2 separate regions of the Homo sapiens genome follow, and region 1 is linked to region 2. Evidence: promoter capture Hi-C in 16 types of primary human blood cells and fetal thymus (Javierre and others, 2016). All regions are on one chromosome and are shown on one strand. Each heading gives the region's core, a stretch centred on a gene start or on the middle of the fragment in contact. The rest is flanking DNA. Distances are from core to core; before and after follow the strand shown. Region 1 holds the start of NAA30 (N-alpha-acetyltransferase 30, NatC catalytic subunit). Region 2 holds the start of SEL1L (SEL1L adaptor subunit of SYVN1 ubiquitin ligase).

Region 1 (6,422 bases), core at 2,904-5,403, about 24 Mb after region 2:
TCCTTTGAGCATGGAATAAGCAAACAAAATATTAAATTAGTTCATTCTTAAGACCTGATTTCTTCCTAATTTAGAATCTATAGGAGCAAAAATCAAGCTGTATACATCATCTAAAAAGCCCAATATATCATACACCATTACGATGACATTAGTAGTGAAGACCAATGCTGCATTTTTTTTTCCTGATAAACTACTCATGAATATGTGGTACATTTACAGGAATCACTAAATTGCTTGTCAATTTTTCCAAATAAAAGCTCTGCATATACATTTGGAATTCACGCTATTAAATGTATTTTTTCAAGGATGGGAACTGAAAAATCCCCGGCAAGATTAAGACTTAACACTACAAGGCCAAAGGGTTGTCAGTCTATAAAACTATGAAAAAAATAAAGTGAGAGATTCCCAAATTCTAGAACACTACAAATAGAAAACTGGAGGAAGCCAAAAAGTTAAATTTAGAACAAATAAATGGAAGTACTATGTTACATTTGCTGAGAGTAAGTTTAAGAACTTCAAAAAGATACCAACAACTGAAAATGTTACTATGAAAACAGGTAAAGATAAAATGGTTAAGTACAGAGTAACTGAAAGTGTCTCACATTTGTCCTTTTTTTTTTTTTTTTTTACATCTTTTACAATTAGGAAGAATCATAATAAGCTATCATTTTTATTAATCAAGTATTGGCAATTTTGTAAGGTTCAACCCCATATACTCCATTGACCCATTACAGGTTATCCACGGAAAACGGAACATTTTGGAGGTTTTTAATCTCTTGAGATTGATGTAAGGGCAACTGTCCCTTGGTGAAGATAACTTGGTGACACAATAATCTTCACTGAATGGATCAAGGGTATGTCATTTTTCAGGTTCTTGTTTGTTACCATAATGAGAGGCCAGGAGAACTGGGTTCTAGCTTTACCCTTCCGACGGTAAATATCTGGAGATTGAAACATTTTAAGTCACTTTGGTTCTTAACTTCTTTTCAATCAAAAAACAAAACAAAACCTACCCCTCTGTCAGTAAATATCTGGAGATTGAAACATTTTAAGTCACTTTGGTTCTTAACTTTTTTTCAATCAAAAAACAAAACAGAACAAAACCTAAGTTGGGCTAGATTATCTCTAGGATGGCTTTCAGTTCTAAAAGGATATGATTTAAAATAAACAGACATTTACGCATCTGTATTTTTAAAAAAATAGTTCCTATGGGAAACTTAAATTTAAAAGTATGCCAAGATAAAGGCTTCAGTTTTAAATGGCCTGGTTGTTTTTTTACTGTTTTATTATTGTTTAATACCTCCTGATTCATACTTGCACCAGTAAATCTTATAGGTCAACCACTTGTGCATATCGCAATTCTAGATACTCAGAATATTAAACAAACTTGAGCTACTAAAGGCTAACATACACATTAGCTGGTGAATTGGGAGGGTTCTACATAAAATCAAATCTAAAGTTTACTAATATTGTTGACCAGAGTCTAAAATAGCAAACAAGTTGAGAGAGGCTTAGGTAACTATCAGGACTCAAAGTTGACTAAATATCATATACACAACTATTTCCTGGAATTGACAGAAAAACATCTATTTCAACTTGAAATGTGACTCAATCATCTACTTCTGTGGGTTAACTTACAACTAAATCTACAATTTTTAGCAATTACAGTGGCATTTGATATGACATTTATAATAGTGCTATAAATCATTTTCTCATATTCATTGACACAGACATGTCTTAGAACTATTCTGATACAATGCTTAGAATACTGAAAGAGCAGTTTTCAAGAATATAAAGTAGTACCCACAGTTTTAACAAATGTACTGAATTGAAGTTTAAGCAAGTTAAGACAGAAAATAGAACTACCATTATCTACAATACCCAGGTTACATTTTCAAATTATCACCAAGCTAGAGAATCAAAAAGATAAGTATTGTCAAAATATCTTGCAGGGAATTACCAAGTGAAACTAAGCCAATGCTAAAACATTAAGTAATGGTGGCTTTTCCCTTCACATATTAAAAAATATTCCTTAAAAGGATGTCATCTTTCTGTAGTAAAATTCAACAGAAACAATATGCTTGTGAGCACATGATACAAAGCATACACCTGCAGTCAACGTTTAAGTTAAAGGGTTCATACAGACTGAAATGGGTCAATATTATTGTGAAGAAATTACTGGTACTGCCAATACTATGTTAATTTTTAAAAACCGTCCAAAAGTCTTTCACTTACGTGTAATATTATTGTCAATTATACTCTACACAAGCCAGTGTTACTAGTGTTTGGCCACATCTACAACCAGTTTCTTAAATTAAAAAAAAAAAAATCAGATCGGTAACAATTTCACACAAGTTTTCTACATTCCACAAAAGGGTATTTTGTTCAAGTTTCAGGAGTCTTTCAGCCACCAGAAGTGTTAGTAGCGCTTTCTGGAATGGAGTACCAGAAAGCAGGCTGGCTACAACTGTTAATTGTCCAGTTGAAGTAAAGAGAAACATCTCCATAATTACCGAAAATGCTTGTAAGATTTAATTCTCCAATATGACCACACCAAGTTTGCTGACATCCATGTTCACCACAACATGTTTATGCATACACTCTTCCCTGATTATGGTTGTAATCGAGAGACTAATAAGGCCTGTATCTGAACAGAACCATGTTCAAATTAAATGACTGTAAAGTGTTTGAGGATGCGGGCGGGTAATTAAAGACGGTTAAACACGATTATAATCTAATGTAAACAAGACACAAGACCCCCACCCCAGTGAAACACGCCACCATACAGGCTTGCTGCAGTTACACTAGTATCACGTTAACCCGAATCATGAAGTCTTACCTTCAAAACAATTTCATTAAATAACTAGGAATGTGTACAGCACTTGACATCATATAACGTACTATGATACGCAGCAGGAGATATCCACTGCCACATTCTGGGCCCTCACTCCCTGCCCCGCACAGTCTCGATCACTGCTGGGTTCACCCTCTTTTTATTCTATCCACTTACCAAGAAGCACAGCTGTGGCCAGTTGTGGATAAAATATCTATAGGTATAAATGGAGTAGGGTTCGGACAGATCTTTGGTGATCAGTCTCATGATATCGGGCATTTGTAGCTCGGATTCATATCGGACATATCGTATCGTCCGATCCTCCCCAGGCTCAACCTCCCTGCCCGAAGGGCTTCTTAAGCTGCAGTCGGCGGTCAGGGACGAAGACAGCAGCCGCACCTGCTCGTCTTCCTCCTCCTCCTCCTGCTCGGTGCCCTCGGCCAGTCCATTGCGGGCCGCCGCGGGATCGCTCGCCGCCGCTGCCTCCACCGGGCTGGGGACCGCAGTTCTTGCATTACTAGAGAGGGAGTGAGGGGGCCTCTCGCCCGAGTGTACCCCGGCTCCTTTTGTTGCAGTCGCTCTGGGGCCTCCGTCAGGGGTGGCTGTGGTCGCGGCCACCTCTGCTACGCTCAGGACCTTGCTCTTGAGGGAGGCGGCCGCCCGGAGGTGCCGCAGTTCGGGGCTAATCAATCCGTTGAGCTGCTGCTGCTCCTGCGGCGGCTGAGGGCAGCGGAGGCACGGATGCCCCTTGGCCGCCACCGTCGCCGACTCTCCGCCCGCCGGGCTCCTGCTGCCGCCGCCTTCGTGCTCTTCGTCGTCCTCCTCGTCCTCGCTGCAGCAGGCGAGGGCGGCCCCCGCCGGGAAGGGACAGCGGGGCTCGACCGCCGCCGGGGCCGGAGGTGCTGGTGGTGGGAGGAGGCTGCTAGGCCCAGGCGGTACCTCCGCCATCCTAGAAGCGACACAGACCGAGAGGGGAGGCCATGAAACCCGGCCGAGGAGCGCGGAGAACAGGGGGCGACGGATGGGGGGCGGCCGAGGTGGGGGGAACAAAGGCAGAAACCGTCCCTCACGGAGCTGCCCCCCAATTCCCCGCCACCCCCCCGCTCTTCAGCGCCGCCCAGCTGCTCAGCCGGCCACCGTCCCCGTCCGCCCGGGCCCACCCGCCAGCCCTGTCACTCGCGGCCCCTCCTCACGGCTCACCCCGCACGGGTCCCCGCCGCCGCTGCCGCCACTCCTCTTCCTCCGCCACCGCCGCCGCCTCCTTCGCAGCCGCGGCAGCCTCCACAGCCGCCAAGGTTCTCACTCAGCCGCCGTCGCCGTAAAGCGCCTCAGCTGTTAGGCCGGGTAAAGTTTCCTGGGCCTGGCTTTACGACACTTCCCTGCCTGCCGGCTGCCCGGGCCAAGAGAGAGGGGCGTGGAGGGAGGTGACCTGTGGAGGGGCGGGGACAAAGGTGTCTCCTGCGGGCTGCGGGGAAGGCCGCGTGCTAGTGGGTGGGGCTGTGGGGCCGGGAAGTTGCAGAGGGCTTTGGAGTCACAGGCTCCCAAACCCTCTTCCTCGGTTTGGGGGCGCCTCAACCTGCGGTGCTTGCCACGCGGGGCCGGGGAGGGATGGACCGGGCAGGCGCTCCCTGCTTAAAGTCTACCGCGCACTCCGAGCTGTAGCGAATCTCGCCAATTCGGGGCCTGTGGAACAAGCCGTTTACAAGTCACCTAAAAATGCCCTTTTAAAGCTGCACAGCGTTTAATGTTTGCCCTGACCAGGGGCAAGGAGGATGGGGGAGGAGCGATTAAAAATGGAGCAAATCAGAGAAGCCGACCGAAAAAGAAAGGAAGATTTGAGCTGTGAAAATATGGGGATGGCTGTCGAAACGTGGTGGTTTGCAGTGTGAATTAAGTTCAGCTGGCCCTTGCCACTTTGAGGCAAGGGAGTCAGCCCTCTTCCTCTCCCTCCTTACTCTGCTCCTCGCACCCAGTAAAATTGGAGGCAAAAGTGACTGACAGGTGTTGGGCAATTGCTAGCACACCTGGGGAAGGGTTAGAGAGAGGTGGTGAAAGAGAGTGACCAGGGCTAAGAAGCACACTCCTAAACTTGTGACACAAATAGGTTAGGAAGCACTGGTAAACAGGTGGCCTGATCCTCCCAGGGGATCTGCCTATCGAGTGCAAAGGGGATAGAACTTGAGCTTGTGGCTGGGCGCCTTCTGCTCTAGTCCACAATTGACTCCCGGCAGGTCTGAGCTGAGACAGGTAGTGTAACTCACCCGCTCACTGAACAAATTCGGTTTTGTTAAAAACCTGATTTATAGAGCTGGTCTGGTGTGCCGCAGATGGACGTTTTCAATATATAATTCTATGACGGAACACGTTTGCAACTTTTTGCCGTAATCTAAACTCTATGTATAAAGTATTTATTATGCTCGCAGATTCTGTGCCTCTGAAATCCAGACAGAGCACAACTGGGATGGCTTTTCTCTACTCCATTATGCGTAGAGCTTCAGTTGGAAGACTCTAAGGCTGAGGAGTAGAATTATTTGAAAACTTCACTTTCACCGCTGATGGTTGATGCAGGATAAAGGCTGGAGGCCTCAGTTCTAGTCCATGTAGACCTCTCCCGGTGGTCTTTTAGCATTGATTGGTTTGGGCTTTGTCACAGCCTGGTGGCTGGGTTCCACGGCAAGTATCGTGCGAGAAAGTCAATCAGAAGCATATTACCCATTATAACCTAGCCTTAGAAGTCATGTAGTCTCTAGCCAGGTGCGGTGCCTCACGCCTGTAATCCTGGCATTTTGGGAGGCCCAGGCGGGAGGATCTCTTGAGGCCAGGAGTTCGAGACCAGCCTGGCCAACACAGTGAAACCTCATCTCTGCCGAAAAATACAAAAATTAGCCGGGCGTGGTAGCTCATGCCTGTAGTCCCAGCTACTCAGGAGGCTGAGGAGAATCACTTGAACCCGGGAGGCGGAGGTTGCAGTAAGCCGAGATTGCGCCACTGCACTCCAGCCTGGGCAACACAGGGAGACTCCCTCTCATCAAAAAGAAACAAAAAACAAGTTATGTAGTGTCAGTTCTGCTGCATTGTATCTAGGCAGACACAAAATTATATCCAGTTTTGACAGGAGGGGAAATAGACTCTACTCTTGGTGGAGAGAGGCAAGGTTCTCAAAGAGCATATGGGACCAGAAATATTGCTGTGGCCATTTTCAGAATGTATAACTTGCTACAGATACATTGAAAACCTCCTAAACACCTTGATGTGTGGGGGATATAAATGAGATGTATAAGTACAGCGTGATCCCTTTTCTGTCTTTTAAAAAGCACAAAACAAAACCATGTTTCCAAATGTGCATACATTGTTTAAAGATACATGTTTTTCAAAGTTTCTAAGTGTAACCTGGGTAGTCAGCCAATGAAACAATGATCTGTTCAAATCATGGTGGAAAAACTGGCCCAAGAGGCACCAGATAATTCCATAAGAGATGTTTAAGGGTGAATTTTACTTAGAAAAATACCTCTCAGTAATTTACTTTTAAATGTAAGCCCTTCCTAAAAAGCATGTACCTTCACTGTAGTGAATGAATGGCAGCAGGCCT
Region 2 (6,765 bases), core at 444-2,943:
TGTCAGCACAGTTCCTATTTTGTGAGTAGAATAAGTTCTAATTTTTTTTATTCTGTGAAAAGTGTAGCCATTGAAAATTTTCAATAGGCATATGAAAGCAGTGTTTAAGGAAAATTAATATGGCCATGATATGTGATTCAGGTTAAAGGGAGAATGATGTCAGTGAGTATGGCTGGAACTCAGGTGCATCATCCAGGTGAGAGAAAATGAAAGCCATTAGGGGAGTTTTCAGTGAGGAAGAGAACAGAGGTACATAATAAAATAAAACAATTTAAAAGTTACATAGTTTAAACTGATAGAACTTGATTATCAATAAGATGAAAAAGAAAGGAAAATATACCAGATTTTACTCTATGATTTATAATCAGAGGAACTCAGAGGGAACATTGTTAGTGACAGAAATGGTGATGTAGCTGAAAAGACAAGTTTTTGGAGGAGATAATTCTTTCCTTCATCTCCTCCGATGTGAATGAGAAACAGTGGTTGGTTTTTTACCATCTTCCTGAAAATAAAAGGCTGTATCTCAAAAAACAAAAAACAAAAAACAAAAAAAAAAAGGAAGGAAGACAAATGCCCAGAAGTGTTAAGACACATGGCCAGCAGAGACTTTTCCAAAGTCCTTCACTTGGCTGGACTAGGTTCTAGGCCTTAGAGCTGACTGTGGGTGGATGACAGGGAAAGCAGAATGACACGGTTTGAGAAAAGAAAGGGCAGGCACACCAAGTCACTGCTCTGCTACTCAGTTGGAACATGCCTGGATTTCGTGCTTATTACATAGAGTATTTCCGTGCCTGCGATGCAATCACTATCACCTCTACCTCCACACACGTGAACCTGGTCTCCTGACTTTAGTTAGGAAAGAAGAGAACAATGCAACTCACAAGAGGAGAAGGATGAGGACAAGTGTTTAAAATAATTTTTCAAAGCTGTTGGCACATTTTCTTTATGATTATTGTCTGGTGAACCTAGTGAAAATAAATACTGTATTGAGATAATCTGTGCCGAGCGGATTTATTTCCTTTTGTTTTGTCGGAGAAAGGAGGACAGGTACTGAGTTGCACCCTGGTTTCCGTACTTCACGGTACTGTTTTATCTAAGTTTTAAAAAACACCTCAAATTCAACTAGCTGTGGCATTTTTCTCAGTGCTCTTATCACTATGCCCAATTTAAATTTTTTAAATAAAACAGGAAAAGATGCTAAACACATTACAAGTTCTTAAAATTATTCCTTAATATTTATTTTGGGTCAATTTAAAAAGGCTTGTGAATCCATAGCCTTGAGTTAATATTTAGCCCAGGTGTTAGTTAAATTCTAACTTCAACAGTCACCCGCACTTGTAAATCTTGCCCTACGATGGACTACGTTTCCCAAGAGCACCCCCCGAGTTAATCACATGAAGCGCATTCTGGGAATTGTAGTCTCGGATGAGCCTCTTTCTCCCAGTCTTGGACTCACGCGCTGATTCCGGTTGAACCCAGGGGCTACCAATTAGCTGGGGCCATGTCCGTGAGTCGTGGTCCAACCGAGAAAGCTGGTGTGGGAGCTTCGTACAATGATTGGCCAATGAATGACCCCCGGGGCGGAGCAATGGGGGTGGGCGGGGAGACCATGGTGATTGGACCAGAAGCCCGCGACGGCGGGCGGGGATTGGCTGCGCGCTGGGTCAGGGAAGCCTGGGAAGGGGCGGAGGAAGGAGACTAGAGCAGGAAGAGCAGCGGCGAGGCGGCGGTGGTGGCTGAGTCCGTGGTGGCAGAGGCGAAGGCGACAGCTCTAGGGGTTGGCACCGGCCCCGAGAGGAGGATGCGGGTCCGGATAGGGCTGACGCTGCTGCTGTGTGCGGTGCTGCTGAGCTTGGCCTCGGCGTCCTCGGGTCAGTATCCGCCCCCTCGGGCTGAAGGCCCAGAGCCTCCGCCCCCCAGCCTCTACAGCCGGCGGGGCCGTGGGGACTCCAGGCTCGGGACCCCGTTCTCCCTGGGCACATCTCGCACTGGGCTGTCACTCGCTCTTTGGCTTTGCTTGGCCTGCGCCAAAGGGGCTATTTAGGAAGGTGGAGTGGGGTGGAAAAAGAAGGGGCGGTCACCCTGCCCACACCTCTCTCCCACGTAACAAACTTTGCGCGACTCTTCTCACGAACGCGGAATTGACTCCAAAGGAATGAATCCTGATACAGGAGCCCGAGTGGAGCTTCCTCGACCCTGGGGTAGAGGAAGGGTCTGGTCTAGAACTCTGGGCTTGGGAATTGTAAGTTAAATAATTGACAAACCTGGAGCTGTCACTTTGGGGCAGAGGAGGATCCATCCAGACCAGGATGTTGACAGTAGTTTGCTTAACACCTGAGATGGTCCCTGGTCTGTCTGTTTAAAAACGAAGACTTTTGATCTCATCGTAGCCACTTTTTACTTTTTTGAAACCTTCCTGAGAAAGCGGTGACCTGTCACAGTGTTTCTGAGTTGCCCCATGTTTGTTGACAGTCATTTTATGATGTTTGGGAAAATCTTGGTTCTTATAAGATGCGTTTTATATAGATACAGAAATTTGTGTGCTTTTGAATTGATTTTCCAGTTAGCTAATGTTTATTCTGGTTCTGCTTTTTTCCCCCTTTTTTAATGTTTTAATCTGCCTACATTTGAAAATTTCCATTTTGAGAGTGTTCATGAAAACTTCGTGTTTCTAAGTGTTGATAAATAAAAATTAGTACAGTAAAACTTTGGAATTTTAATCAGTTTCAGTTAACAGGACAGGTGTTCTGTGGCTTGACGTTTTGGGGGGACAACACGGAGTATAAATGTCAGCTTTTTCTTTTTTTAATAAATGTCAGCTTTTTTTTAACAGAAAATTTCCCAGATGGTTATCTGAATCCCCAAATTACCTGTCCTAGTTGTAAATCAATGCCATAACGTCATTCTGCTTCTAAAATAAGAGGCTTAAACCTAAATTCTATCCATGATGTGGTTTGAGATACCATTTCAAAAGCACCAACCCTATGCTAATTACTTTACTGCCAACATCATTCTTTCAGGTCCACTCCCCTCCCTCCAGTAGTAGTGATGGTTTGAGTTAATGACCAGATCTTTAGACTATACTTAACTCTCGAAGCACTTTTAGCAGTTATTTAATATTTGATCAAAAAGCATGAAATGAAGCTGTTGAGCTTAATGAGTAGAGTACCTGCTGGACCATGGACCTCCTGCATCAGAATTCCTCTTATGGGTTTGTTAAACATTGGGTTTTAGGTCTGGAACAGCTCAGGTATACATAGATTAACAATCTCCATGAGGGATTCTTCACACTAAAGAGAACTACAGTAATGAAAGAGCACGGTGTGTATCCCTCTGAATTTAATTGGCAGAGTTTAAAGAAAATTAAAGCATAGGAATTGTGCTGTCTGTCTTTGACTGCATTTTATATACTTAGAGCTCCATGCCAGTGGAAAAGATATTTGAAGATCAACAGTTGGGGCTTTCAGGATGTTGTAATAAAAGACTTAACACTGATATATTAAATCCTTGGGTTGTATTGATGTAGGTAGAGGACTGTATTCAAGAAATGTCTGCTCTGATTTCCATCATAGTTAAAGCTGTGCCACAACATTTCAATGGTAAAGGCAGAAGCCTTAGCCAGAACTAAAACAATGTAGATGTGCATGCTAAAAGGTAATAAAGGCAGTGCTGTGCTCACATGAAGTTCATATATCATAAAACACCTGTGCGGGCCCAGCTCATACCTGTAATCCCAGCACTTTGGGAGGCTGAAGTGGAAGGATCACTTGAGCCCAGGAGTTCAAGACCAACCTGGGCAACATGGCGAAACCCCATCTCTACGTAACTCCAGGTGTGATGGTGCACACGTGTAGTTCCAGCTACTCGGGAGGCTGAGGTGGCAGGATGGAGTGAGCCCCAGGAGGTTGAGGCTGCACTGAGCTGTGATTATGCCACTGCACTCCAGCCTGGACAATAGAGCGAGACCCTGTCTCAAAAAAAAAGAAAAAAAAACAACCCTGTGTTAAATAAAGTTGTGTAAATTAAGCTATGGATTTTCAATTGTGATTTTCATTCACAGGGTTTCGGCCTCAAAGTTTAAAGTTTTACTCCAGTATTAAAATCAAGTTTTTGGTTATAATTTTGTGTTTGAACATTAGTGGTTACCCAGGGCAGGTCGCATCTCTCCAGGTGGAGTATGGTCAGCCAACAAAGAGAATCTTGATTCTATTGCTGTTGATAGCTGTTAGCTAGTATCATGTTTTAGAAGCATGTAAAAATATGATATAGTCACATGCTACATAATGACATTTTGGTCAACAATGAACCCCATGTAAGATGGTGGCCCTGTAAGAATATAATGGAGCTGAAAAATTCCTGTCACCTAGTGACATTGTAGCCATTGGAACATGGTAGCACACTTTTTAAAAAATAAATTTAGTGTAGTTTAAGTGTACAGTGTTTACAATAGTGTATAGTAACATCCTAGGCTTCACATTCACTCACTCACTCACCCACAGCAACTCTTAATCCTGCAAGTTCCATTTATGGTAAGTGCCCTAGACAGGTATATGTTTTGTAATCTTTTACACCATATTTTCACTGTAGCTTTTCTATGTTTAGCTATGTTTATGTACACAAATACTTACTGTTATGTTACAGTTGCCTACAGTAGTCTGTATAGTCACATGCTGTACAGATTTGTAGCTTAGGAACAACAGGCTACACTATGTAGCCCAGGTATGTAGAAGGCTATCCCATTTAGGTTTAAGTATACAAAAAGGAAATCGCCCAGTGATACACTTTTCAGAACATATCCTCGTCATTGACACATGGCTAATATTAGAAACATTTTCTCTTTTCTATTAATAAATTTAAAGGAGGACACTAAAAAGATATTTCTTCATTTTCTCAGGATAATAGTGAAAAGGTTATAATTTTTCTCACAAATGCATGCTTTCTTATTTTTGGCAGAAGAGGCAAATGGCTTAACCTTTTTTTTTCTTTGTGCCAAGCAGTGTTAGTCATTTTAGTTAGGTCCACTGCCAGGTATTTCAGGTAATAATTATAAATTCAGAGAGTAGTTTTCAGACAGCAGAGGATGTTTAATTTCACTGTTTTGGTCGTTCCTTAAAATATTGTGAGTCAGCGGGACAGAGGTGTTACCCCTTTTGACAGATTGAGAAACAGAGGCTGAGCAAGCTTTTGTTACTGAACCATGTGTCAGAATTAACATGTGATGAAGCCAGGTTCCAGACCTAGCTCTCCAGGTCTCAGAATTGAAGAAATTTAGAATCGAGAGTATCTTAGGATCTGTACCAATTTAGAGCTAAAGCAGAGAACAGGATATCTGGTCTGTTTTCACCAAACTATTTAGACTTTCTGTGTTTAAAGGTTATCAGTCTGTTTAATTTACGTGATGAATGGAAAAATGATTTTGTAGTGATCACTTTTCCCTGAAAGCATATCTCTGGTACTTTGCAGTTTTGTTAGCTAATACAATAAAAATAAAAACTGGTCCTTTTCAAAGGAAGGTGTACAGTTAATAAAATAATATGAACCATTTGGATGTGATGCTGATGAGCGAGAAGCGCATAACTTAATCCTTTTGCATTTTTTTCTTGTTGCTTGATATCTGTGTTCTGATGAAAACATTACTGTTTGCTTTTTATTTATGCATAACTTCAGTCTCTTTAATCCTTACCTGAATACTACTTATCAGAAGTTCCTAGGTTATAAACAACTCTTTAAAAAGTGTTGTGTGAATGTTTATATCAGTTTGAAAAAGAAAATAGCTTATGCTTTGAGACTACCATCTGGAGTAGGCTTTCCCAGTTTAGTAACTGAGAATTATCTTATTCACCAGTAATATTAGCATATAGTCCAGGTTGCGAAGAGAGAGGGAGAGAAAGAGAAGCATGATGCAATTCACATGAAATAACTCTGATGTTACAAATCATGTTTCTTGGAGTTTGAAAACACGTTTTGCTACTCTAATGCCTAACAGCTTGTGCTGTGTGAAATGTACATGTCTTTAAGTGTATTTACAGATGTGTCCATATGATTCACCTGTTAGCTACCTATGTAACCTGTTGTGGTGAGGTACTAAATGTAGCAATGTAGTGATAGTGATTTAGAGTTCCAGCTAATCTAAAGTTTCATTCAGTATTTGGGGGTATTTCATATATGTTTAAACATTTAATATCTGTTTTGATATATTAACTAGTTGAAGTTTGTGATTAATTACATATACTTACAGTACAACTTTGATATATTATAGAGATGGGTTTTTTAAATTTATCTAAAGATTTGCTGAGAATGGAATTTGAACCACATGTTAGAAATTGGGCTTTGGGTAATACTTGTGAAGAAGTTAGCATGAAGGACAATTGTTAATTAACTGACATCATTGCCTAATGTTATGGGCGCTGTGGGACTAATATGTGGCATACCCTTCTCTCCACCTGCCAGAAGTAAAACATACTTTGAAGGTAATCTAAAAGTAGGTGAATATGAATAGTAGCTGTAATTTAAATTTTCTTTGACTTGACAGCACTTTCATATATGGCAAAACCTCACTAATGGACTAGTTTCCTCAAATATTCGAAAGAAATATTGTGAGGTAGTGTCTTGTATTTTGTGCATAATTGAGTTGGTTATACTTCTTAGTCTTAACTCAGTACTTTGATAACAAACTCTAACACAGGTTTTTTGTTATATTTTAGAGTTGCAAATTACAAATGATATTTAGGATATAGCCATATGAAGTAAAGTATAAATGACAAC

Evidence for each region. Contacts are between HindIII fragments. The CHiCAGO score rates a contact against its expected background, and 5 or more counts as called.
Region 1: a contact is called between the fragment with the promoter of NAA30 here and the fragment with the promoter of SEL1L in region 2, in 1 of 17 cell types (total CD8 T cells). The highest score is 5.6, in total CD8 T cells.

The regions. Positions count from the first base shown.
Region 1 is chr14:57,388,317-57,394,738 of GRCh38, reverse strand. It overlaps NAA30 (N-alpha-acetyltransferase 30, NatC catalytic subunit), which reads right to left and starts at 4,153. Exons shown (of 5, transcript NM_001011713.3): 1 at 4,034-4,153; 2 at 3,011-3,782. The coding sequence starts at 3,781. RefSeq lists silencers at 3,626-3,775, 3,906-4,045 and an enhancer at 3,174-4,169. The HindIII fragment of the contact is 6,905 bases long and covers 1-6,422 here.
Region 2 is chr14:81,528,781-81,535,545 of GRCh38, reverse strand. It overlaps SEL1L (SEL1L adaptor subunit of SYVN1 ubiquitin ligase), which reads left to right and starts at 1,693. Exons shown (of 21, transcript NM_005065.6): 1 at 1,693-1,871. The coding sequence starts at 1,802. RefSeq lists a silencer at 1,570-1,689 and an enhancer at 1,406-1,905. The HindIII fragment of the contact is 11,079 bases long and covers 1-5,183 here.